Linked DNA regions of Homo sapiens: region 1 is linked to region 2. Evidence: promoter capture Hi-C in 16 types of primary human blood cells and fetal thymus (Javierre and others, 2016). All regions are on one chromosome and are shown on one strand. The core of a region is centred on a gene start or on the middle of the fragment in contact, and the rest is flanking DNA. Distances in the headings are between cores, read along the strand shown.

What was found. The method cuts DNA at HindIII sites, captures the fragments that hold promoters and counts their contacts. A CHiCAGO score of 5 or more calls a contact.
Region 1: a fragment that was not itself captured here is called in contact with the fragment with the promoter of RMDN2-AS1 in region 2 in 1 of 17 cell types (M0 macrophages); the score reaches 5.2 in M0 macrophages.

Annotation. Positions count from the first base shown.
Region 1 is chr2:38,286,494-38,291,491 of GRCh38, reverse strand. It overlaps the pseudogene GAPDHP25. Among named protein-coding and RNA genes, the nearest start is that of ATL2, 88 kb to the left of the region's middle. The HindIII fragment of the contact is 167 bases long and covers 1,782-1,948 here.
Region 2 is chr2:38,034,389-38,039,428 of GRCh38, reverse strand. It overlaps RMDN2-AS1 (RMDN2 antisense RNA 1), which reads left to right and starts at 3,088. Exons shown (of 4, transcript NR_102712.1): 1 at 3,088-3,279. It also overlaps a transcript of RMDN2 not described here. RefSeq lists a silencer at 763-832. The HindIII fragment of the contact is 2,287 bases long and covers 2,271-4,557 here.

The DNA of each region.
Region 1 (4,998 bases), core at 616-3,115, 250 kb before region 2:
AACATTTTTGTGCATACTAAATGCTCAGAATGTTTTAACATGGACTGGATTAGTCAACTTCACCTCAATCTGCCTTCCATACTTAGGCATATGCCACCTGCTGTAGGTAAGCTTAGTGGTTATTTGGCAACTGTGGGATCCTAAATATCAGTGGTTGCTTTTTCTGCCCTTGGCATCAAAATAATCAAACTATGAAGGAATATGATCATTAAAAACCCTCTGGTAAAATAACTTTGGGGGATGGTGAGGGTAGGCTACCTTATGGATTTGGGTTCTCCTTTTTTTTTTTTTTTTTTGAGATGGAGTCTTGCTCTGTCACCTAGGCTAGAGTGCAGTGGCACAATCTCGGCTCACTACAACCTCTGCCTCCCAGGTTCAAGCGATTCTCCTGCCTCAGCCTTACGAGTAGCTGGGATTATAGGCACCTGCCACCACACCTGGCTAGTTATTGTATTTTTAGTAGAGATGGGATTTCACCTTGTTAGTCAGGCTGATCTCAAACTCCTGACCTCAGGCAATCCACCCACCTCAGCCTCCCAAAGTGCTGGGATTACAGGTGTGAGCCACTGCACCTGGCCTGTGTTATTTTTAAAACTTCAGTATACTGATTTGATCTAATGCATTTTCCTAAGTATCTGCTTATAAGTCCTACCAGAATTGGGTTTACAGGCCTGTATAATGTGTGTTTATCTCCAAGAGGGATGTTTATATTATTTAGAGAGGACAGGGCAGTTTTTCCTGGGAAGACTGAAGGTTTTCTGTGTGTTGGGGGGTATAAACATGTTTAGCATCTATACTGAATGCTGCCAGTGCTCATGCAATAGCCTTGGGGTGGGTATTCTTATCTCTGATTTTATAGAGGAGGCATCTCAGGTTCAGAGAGGTCAACCACATTTACCAAAGTGAGGGTGCTCCGGGATTGGAAACCAGGTCTACTGGCTTTAGAGTCCAGAGAGCTATGTACTTACCCACCCTATCACACCGCTGTGAAGAATAAATAGTCCCACCCAGAGAAGAGGAAAGAGAGAGAAGGGTGGATATCAGGAAGGAATACAGAAATGGTTCAGCGTGGCTGTACTAGGGAGTTACTGAAGGGCAGAGACGGATGTAGGAGTGGAGTTGAAGTTTAAAGACCTGGGCAAGATTGTGAAGGGCCTTTCAGATCAGGTAGAGGGGCTTGACATTTAGATATTAAGGTTACACGGACGATTCTTAGAAAAACACAACAGCTATGCGGCCAATTCTAATACTTTAGTATAGTTTCCCAAAGTATGAATTTTTATTTTTATTTTTTATTTTTTAAGGGATGGGGGTGGGGTCTCAAACTCCTGGGCTCAAGCAGTCCTCCCACCTCAGCCTCCCAAGTTGCTAGGGCTATGGACATGCACCACTCCACCTGGCTCGCTTTTTATTTTCGATTAGAGTCACCTGGAGTGCTGTGTGGCCGCCCCCCACCCGCCCCCACATTGCATAGTGAATTTATTTATTTTTTATTATACTTTAAGTTCTAGGGTACGTGGGCACAACGTGCAGGTTCATTACATATGTATACATGTGCCATGCTGGTGTGCTGCACCCATTAACTCATCTTTTATGTTAGGTATATCTCCTAATGCTATCCCTCCCACCCTGCATAGTGAATTTAAATCTGTATTTCTACCAGGTCTCTCAGATAATTCTAATGCATACTGAAGCCTGAGATCAGTGTTAAGTGTTTCCTAATGAGTAGCAGAATTATGGATTTCTCCTGCTGTTTTTATACCTTCCTGACTAAGAAAGCTTTCTGCACAGACAGAGCTGAAATTATGTTGTTGTACTGTGTTGTTTCCCTGGGAGGAAGGTGGAGCTTGTATTGGGAAGGAAAGATCTTGGCAATAGATTGAAAGTGTGCTCTTCTTCCATATTAAAGTAAATGTTATCTCTCAAATTAGAGACCCATTCTCAAGCTTGGATCTTCTTTCAAAACTATGTCATTTTGCTTCACAAACTTTGTACTTGTTCTTTCCTTTTAAATACTTTTGTGAAGGAACACAATAGTTTTAGACATAGCTGATGATTGCAGTCTTCTTTCATTTCATTAGGGAAATGTTTAAGAATGATTATGAGACTTCATAATGTTCCCTGTTCTTTCATCAGCTTTTGAATACAGAGAAAAGAAACTCAGGACTAAATTGTATAAATCAGCAGATCGTACCTTCTATCAAAATATAATCCTTAAAATTATACATGACTGTTGTCCAAATACACAATGAATACATAATAAAATTTATTCAACTTCTTAATGAGGAAACCGGAGATGGCAAAAGGCTGTTTCAAAGCAGAATTGGAGAAATAGGAGTTATGTAGTCCACCAGGAAGGGCATTTTGAAATGAGTATGCTGAGTAATGTGCGCCCTTAGTAGTAAATGGCAACGCCAAACAAATATAGATCAGTGAGTCTCAGACTTGAGTCTCAGGATCCCCTTTGGCTCTTAAAAATTGAGGCCTCCAAATGATCTGCCAATATTTATCTTATTAGAAATTAAAACAAAAATGTTAAAACATTAAAAAATAAGCTCATTATATGTTAACTTTTAAAAATTACATATATTAAAAGTATGTAATATGCCATTTTATATAGTGAAATGATACTATAGTCAAGCAAATTAACATATTCATCATCTCACATGGTTACCCCCTCCTTTTTTTTTTTGTACTAAGTGCATCTAAAAGCTGTCTTAGCAGATTTCCAATACACAATACAATATTATTAACTGTAGTCCTCATGCTGTGCGTTAGATCTCTAGACTTACCCTTTGACCTACATCTTCCCATTTCCCCTGCTCCTGGTAACCACCATTCTACTCTCTGTTACTGTGTATTTGATTTTTTTTCCTCTTTCTTTCTGTTACTTTTAGATTCCACACATAAGTGAGATCATGCAGTATTTTTCTGTGTTTGACTCATTTCACTTACCATAACGTCCTCTAGGTTCCTTGTCACAAACGGCAGGATCTCCTTTTTTAAGGCTGAATAATAGTTCATTGTGTGTTTGTATATATATATATACACACACACTATATATACACACACAATCTGCTAGGATTCAATGCATAAAGAAATATATACATTTCTTCAGCAATTTGCCTAGAAGCCTTCTTGATAGGCATGTTAAGCAATGTCCCTGTATGACTTTGAAAGGACATGATCTACTGCCTTTTCCTTTATTTTTAAGTTTTAGATATTTTTTCAAAGCTCATTTCATGCACCTTTACCAGAAACAGATTGGGTCAGACAGACCAAATAAATTCCATGTGTAAACAGTAGAAATTGAGACTGTACTATAAACCCCTTTCTTTAAGCAATCCCCCTCAAACAAACAAAAGCCCCCTTTTTTAATTCAATCTGAAAAATGCACAAGAAAATCTGAAAGTATAAAGACATTCACCCTTAAGATTTTGATGTACTCATCAGAGATAAACACTGATGCCATTTTCCCCCTTCTCATCTGTTACTTGTGTTAGTGTGTACAAGGAAGTAGTCCTCTGTATTTGTGGGTTCTGCATCCATGGATTCGGCCAGCCTGGGGTGGAAAATTGAAAAGAGTGGATGGTTGCATCTGTACTGAGCATGTACAATACAGACTTGTTTTCCTTGTCATTATTCCCTAAACAACTAGTTTTATAGCGCTGACGTTGTATTAGTTATAAGTAATCTAGAGATGATTTGAATCATATGGGAGGATATGTGTAGCTTCTATGCCAATACCAGGCCATTTTCTGTAAGGGACTTGAGCATTGTGGATTTTGGTATCCACAGGGATCCTGGAACTGATCGCCCATGGATACTGGGGGATGACTGTATTTGAAAGTTTGGTTACTGGGCTGTACATACCCTGGCCTTACCCCCTAGAGATTCTAATTCAGTTGATCTGTGTGCAGGCATCAGTACTTTCAAAAGTTCCCCAGATGATTCTGTTGTGCGGCTAGGACTGAGAACCACTACCTAATCTAACCCCACCTTCAACTCTTCCATGGCCTCCCACACCTGTCTTTTGTGTTCTCTATAATCCACGGTCTGTTATTAGCAATTTGCCAAAACACTTTTTCTCTGTGTGTGCTTTCTCTTCATTTTTCACTTTAACTGAAACCCTGGTGTCTTCTATTCCCCTAGTAGAATGTCTCCCCTGCAGCCCTCTCAAGGCTGACTTGCTCCCTCCCTAGCTACTGCCGGTCCTAACAGAGGTGATGTTCCTGTGCTCCATTGCACCCTTTCAAGTCTTTTTTCTATTAAACAACAAATAAAACAGCTTCTTTAAAGTTATCAGACTTTTCCACTTGTCACCCCAACTTACTGTGGGCAATCTTACTGACCTCCCTACCACCCCTCCTCCTTCGTTGATAACTCTGGCACCTGGCTTCCAGCCTTTTTCTCTTGTTCCTTCTGTGGTCATTCTTGGATCCTTAATGCCACATGAATGACCCATCCCATCCCTTGATTTCTTCAGCCCCCAAAAGACCTCCTGTCCTCCATGTCTACTCATTCATAAGTCATACCCTTCTACTATGTCATTACTACCTCCCAAATCTAGATTTTATGGCTTCCTTTCAGTTCATTGACTGCAGTGTTTCCTTTCAAACAATCCTCTAATCTCATGGAAGCCTTATCCTTTCACCCTACTGCTTGTTCATACATATTGCCCTCATCTCCTTGCCTTCTTACTCAGCTAAGATGCAGTGGTCCAGCACTACAACCATTCCTTTATAAATATCCTTAGCTACCCTGTGTACCCACTTGATGAAACTTCAGCTCTGTTTTTAAACCCAAGTCTCTACCTGTACCTATACCTAGCAGCTGAATATTGTTGGTGAAAATCATGGAATCCTGCTGACTAGAGTATCTTTTTTTTTTTTTTTTTGGCTGAGCACAGAGGACTTTATTGGTGGTACATGACAAGGTGGGGCTCCCTAGACCCCTCCCTCTTCAGGGGGTCTGGATGGAAACTGTGAGGAGGGGAGA
Region 2 (5,040 bases), core at 1,839-4,338:
CAGCGACTTCTGAGAAATGGGAAAATGGAGTGCCTGGGGGTGCCCAGGAAGAACTGAAAAGACTGTATGTTGGCTTCCATCCGAGGCTGATCTATGGGCTTCGGGACCAGACAAGTGTGAGTTAGAATCCCATTTCTGTGACTCACCGGTTGAGTGAAATTAGGCAAGTTCCTTATCCTCTCTGAGCCATAGTTTTCTCATTTGTAAAATAAGGACAATCCCAAGTGACTAAATTATTTTACCATAATCATATGGATTAGTTTTAATCCATATGAATATAGTTAAAATTATATGAATATATAATCTTAATCCATGAACATTTTATCTCTCTCTCTGTGTGTGTGTGTGTGTGTGTGTGTGTGTGTGTGTGTGTGTGTGTGTATAGCATCTGGCTTTTAAACTGTTGCTCAAAAATATTATTTTCATTGTCACTTGCAAAGCTCAAATCAAAACTGAGCAGAAGGGAACACCCTTCCCTGTTTGGCTGCCAGGCGGTACACCTCTATGGGAACCACCAGCCTGGCCCTCCGAGTGCTGAAAGGGGCGAAACCTATCAGGGCAGGGATGGGATGGGAGATGCCAAGAAATGACCCAGTGATCCTCCCCAGGATCAGGTCTGGCCAGCCCAAAGTGTCTCTGCCCTTACTAATGCCGGAATACTTGTCAGTCCCAACCCTGTGGGCTGTGAGAAGCACCCAGTGTAATCAACCCACCTTCTATTCCGATTCCAAAAGGCTTTTACTGGGTGCCTGCCATGTGGCAGGTTTTATTCTAGATGCTGTGAATAGAGGTTGATGATGAGTGGTTGGTTTGGCCCTAGCGTAGCTCAGCAACTATAAAAGAGTGCAAACCATGCCTTAAAAAGCTGAGGCTTTAGCTCCAGGCGCAGCTGGCTCCGAGGCGGGGGTTGCAGGCAGCGGTAACCGGGCCTGAACCGTGCAGGAGACAGTTCGGAGTTTCCCAGAAAACAGCTTGCTCAATACGGGGTATCAGTTTTCCTCCCGGCACTTTCCGCCTTGTACCGAGATAACTGAATCAGTAACGCAGAACTCAGCTCATTCTATTGTTGGGGAATCCCAAAAACACCCCAAGGGAGAGAAAGACAAAGTGCTGCACAAAGAGACTCGCAGTCGGCGTCCGCCCTCGCTTGAACGCGTCCCCCTTGCGCCCGGGGGGCGCTGCGCTCCCTCCAGGAGAGGACGCTGCGTCTAAGTCTAAGAGCCTCCAGTGGAAAGTCCCGGAAGCCCTCCCCTGGGCTTGAGATTTTTGCTGGCTGAAATGGAGCCTGGAAGTGCTTTTCTGTGGTTTAGATGGGGAAGGAATGGGGGAAAGAAACGGTTCGGGAAAGGGGAGAATGGAGGGGAGAAGAGGGAAGGAAGATGGCAGGAGCCTCGGAGGTCAGGCTTGCAAGCAAAGCAAACACCAGGCTCCAGAGGGGTTTGCAGGCTACAGAACACCGAGTTTCGAGAGAATCACATGTTTATCTTCTCTTAAAATTCTCATACTGAACGATCTGGATGTGACTCAGCTCACGCAGTCGCTAGCTGTGGCACCGTGTGAGCTACTTAACCTCAGAAAGAGTTTCATCATCTGTAAAATGGGCATCACGGCCTTGTGGAATGGATTAAAAGAGCCAAAGTGCATAAAGCTCACGCAGTATCCTTTATAAGCAGTTTGTAGGTCTCCTTCCTTGAATTTCTTTCAAGCTCCCAATAGCCAACGGGAAGCCGAACACACTTTCACACTAAAAATGGGAATTCAGGGAAGTATCATCAGGTTCTGAACTATGTTTTAAGACTCAAGTCAAACACCAAAACTGAGTCACCACCTAATGTGTGTGCAGCACGTGTTAGGGGCAGTTTGCTATGTGATGACTTGAACGACAGTTTCTCTCTCCTGGGACTTTCATAAAATTCCTTTGGTGTTGCCACACACTTCTGGGATTCTCCACAATGAGCCCATTGCTGAGCCTGTCTCTGCAGATGTTTATTAAACAAGCAGAATTTAGGGGAATAGTCAGCAAGTCTTCACCAAGTTCTTCTATGTGGGCAGCTTTTGTGGTGTGGCCAGGGTATGAGGATAAAGAGCAACTTGGAAAAGTCTGGGGAGAATTTAAGTAGCCTGAAGAGTCTCTGTCCCTCAGGGAGGAAAGCTGAGAAATCGTTTCCATATTTATGTGTCAATTGCTTTATGTCCATTTATTTGATCTTCCTTACAAAATCTTGCATAGAAAATTTCATCCTCATTTTACAGATGAGGAAACTGAAGCTTAGAGAGCTTAGGTCACTTACCCAAGTTCATCCAGGTAGCAAAGTGTCAGGTCTGGATTTAAATCAGGTTGAGTCCAGTACCTTTTTCTTTTTTATATCACGCTGCCTTTCCCTAGAAGCCAAAATTTCTAGGAAATAAATGAACTGCAATGACAAAGCAGCACATTTTCCCATGTTCTTTGCTCTTGATCCCTACCTACTCTTTTCCCGGAAATAGACAATAAAGCCACCAGGATACCTGAGACAGCCTTGGTCATCTTTGTACCGTAGCCAGCACCATGGATTTTTGCCTAGTTACTTTCCCATCAGATTTTAACAGAAAGAACACTGTATTTGCCAGCTCAGTACAGCATATCTCTGGCTCTGTTTTCTCCCCAGCAGGAATCCGAGGGTCTGTCTCTGTATGTGTTATCATCAGACTGGTAAAGAGTTACATGTGTCAGCACAGAAGAAAAGAGCTTTGATGTGAGTTCAGCATGTAAGAAAGCCTTCATTGCTGTCATGCTTTCAACAGGTTCCCCACGACCCACCACTGCCTGCCAAGATGAATGTAAATGAAGCAGAAGTCTCACAGGGTAAATTCAGCTTCCCACGACCTGCAGTTGGACAGGGTGGCAAGGAGATGATGATAATTCCATGGCTCCCAGCTTAATTTCTCTTGGGGAGGGGTATGTGGACTCTTGCTATCCTGGAGTCCATATCATGCAGGACTCCGGAACATAAAAGGCAACAACAGTGAAGTGAGTGCCTGTTACAAACAAGGCTCAACTCAAAGCTAACAATTCTTCTTTATTAGGATACCACTGATCAGAGCTGCAAAGTGTACTCACATCTGTCATTTCGTGTCATTCTTACATAAATCCTGTAGCTGGGCACAGTAGGAAGAAGCATTCTCATCATGGCCACTTAGCTTGCTCGAGATTACACAGAACCATGCCTCTGGTTTCCTGGTACAGTGCTCCGGCAGGTGACGGATGCTCCTGGGTGACATATCACGGATCTCTCTGAGGTGAGATCTTCATGATTCTATATCATAGGCATCTCTTTATCTTCAAGTTGGGCAACATCAGCAGGGTTCCCATGAGTATGTGCCCAGCGAGGCTATTTAGTTCCTCTTATCTTTTTTTTTTTCTACTTGCCCTCGTTTTTCCTGAGATTTTATTTCCTTCCTAGCTGGCATACCTTTCCCTGCTGTGGTATTCAGACCTAAATAGTGTGTGCACCTATTACCTCTGCAGAGTAATTACTGTTTGGTACCATGGTAGAGTTTCTGTGTCCAGATACGGTTGTGAATGCTTGGAATGTAACATTGGGAAAGACAGAACTATTGCTTGTAAGTGGATTTGTGGACATCATGGTGCTATGAGAAAACTAAGTTGAAGATGCTCCTGCATCTTGCTGGTTAAACTAGATATAAACCAGTTGCTTAATAATTCATAGCCTATCCTATCTGTTTCCCACCCTCCTTATCTTCCAGGGACTCATTTATTGAATAACTCATTTTACATGCCTCTTTTATCATATACATTTTTATGTGTATTAGGATGTATTTATGGACTTTATATTCTATTTCACTGATTTGTCTATTCATTCATATTTCTTTGAGTATGATAGCTTTATGCATTTTTTCTTATCTGGTAGGTATTGTTGCCCCTCATTGCTTGACTTCTTCAGTATTTTCACAACTACTCTTACTTGTTTGATTTTCCATTTGAACCTCAGAACATAAAAAGAATCTTGTTGGTATTTGTATTGGAATTTTATCAAATTTGTAGATTAATTGAAGGATATTGGATAATTTTAGGATGCTGTCTTCCTAATCAAAATATAGTGTGTCTTTTTATTTGTTCAAACTTTTGGGGTTCCTTCAATTTCTGCTTGCCTATCAGACATGATTCTTATATTTATTCCTAGATATTTGATCTTGTTTTACTCAGGGTAAATGAGGCATTACCTTCCAGTACACCTTCTAACTGGCTGCCATCTGTATTTGTCATGGCTACTGATTTCTATATATTTATTCTTTTATTGTTGAAGAATGTTTTGTAGTTCGTTCTTTCAGGTTTTTCACACGTGAATTTATTTGCCAACATAAATGATACTTACCATATTCTGTTAATGTATTACTTTCAAATATTCTAATTTGTTTGTCTTTCCTAATTAGAGCTAGTATCTCTAGAACAATATTCAATAATAGTAGTGACAGTGTCATTTTTCCTGTCCTTACTTCAGCATAAATGCTTCTAAATACTTTGTTAGTAGGCATGATGAGCTCAGATAAAAAGCTTTTTTTTAAATATTAAAACAGTATTCCTTTATTTCTACTTATTAAATTTTAAAATCAAGAAAACATTCTTGCCCTTTAAAATATTTTATATTTGTATATGTTTTATCATGAAAATTTTAGTAGGGTATTAATACGTATAATTTATAAATAAATAAATATAAATATATTAGGGGATGACAATTTTTACAACCGATTCAAGCATAAAATAAGAAAGTTTGGAGAGCATGGGTTTAGAGGATTATAATAAATTTTTAAAATTAAAATATCATTGTTTACCACAATACAATTTAATCCTTTTTGATAATGCTGAAGATACTTCAGGATCTCGAATGCTTTAGGATCAGCATTAGGGATACTGTTTATCTTATCAGTTGGTTGAAGGTTGGTTAACTAAGAATAAATCACTGGAAGTTCACCTGTTTGCCTCTGAAAAAGTCTGATCTTTATTGCCCTCTGAATGTCTTCTTCTATGCCAGACAGTTC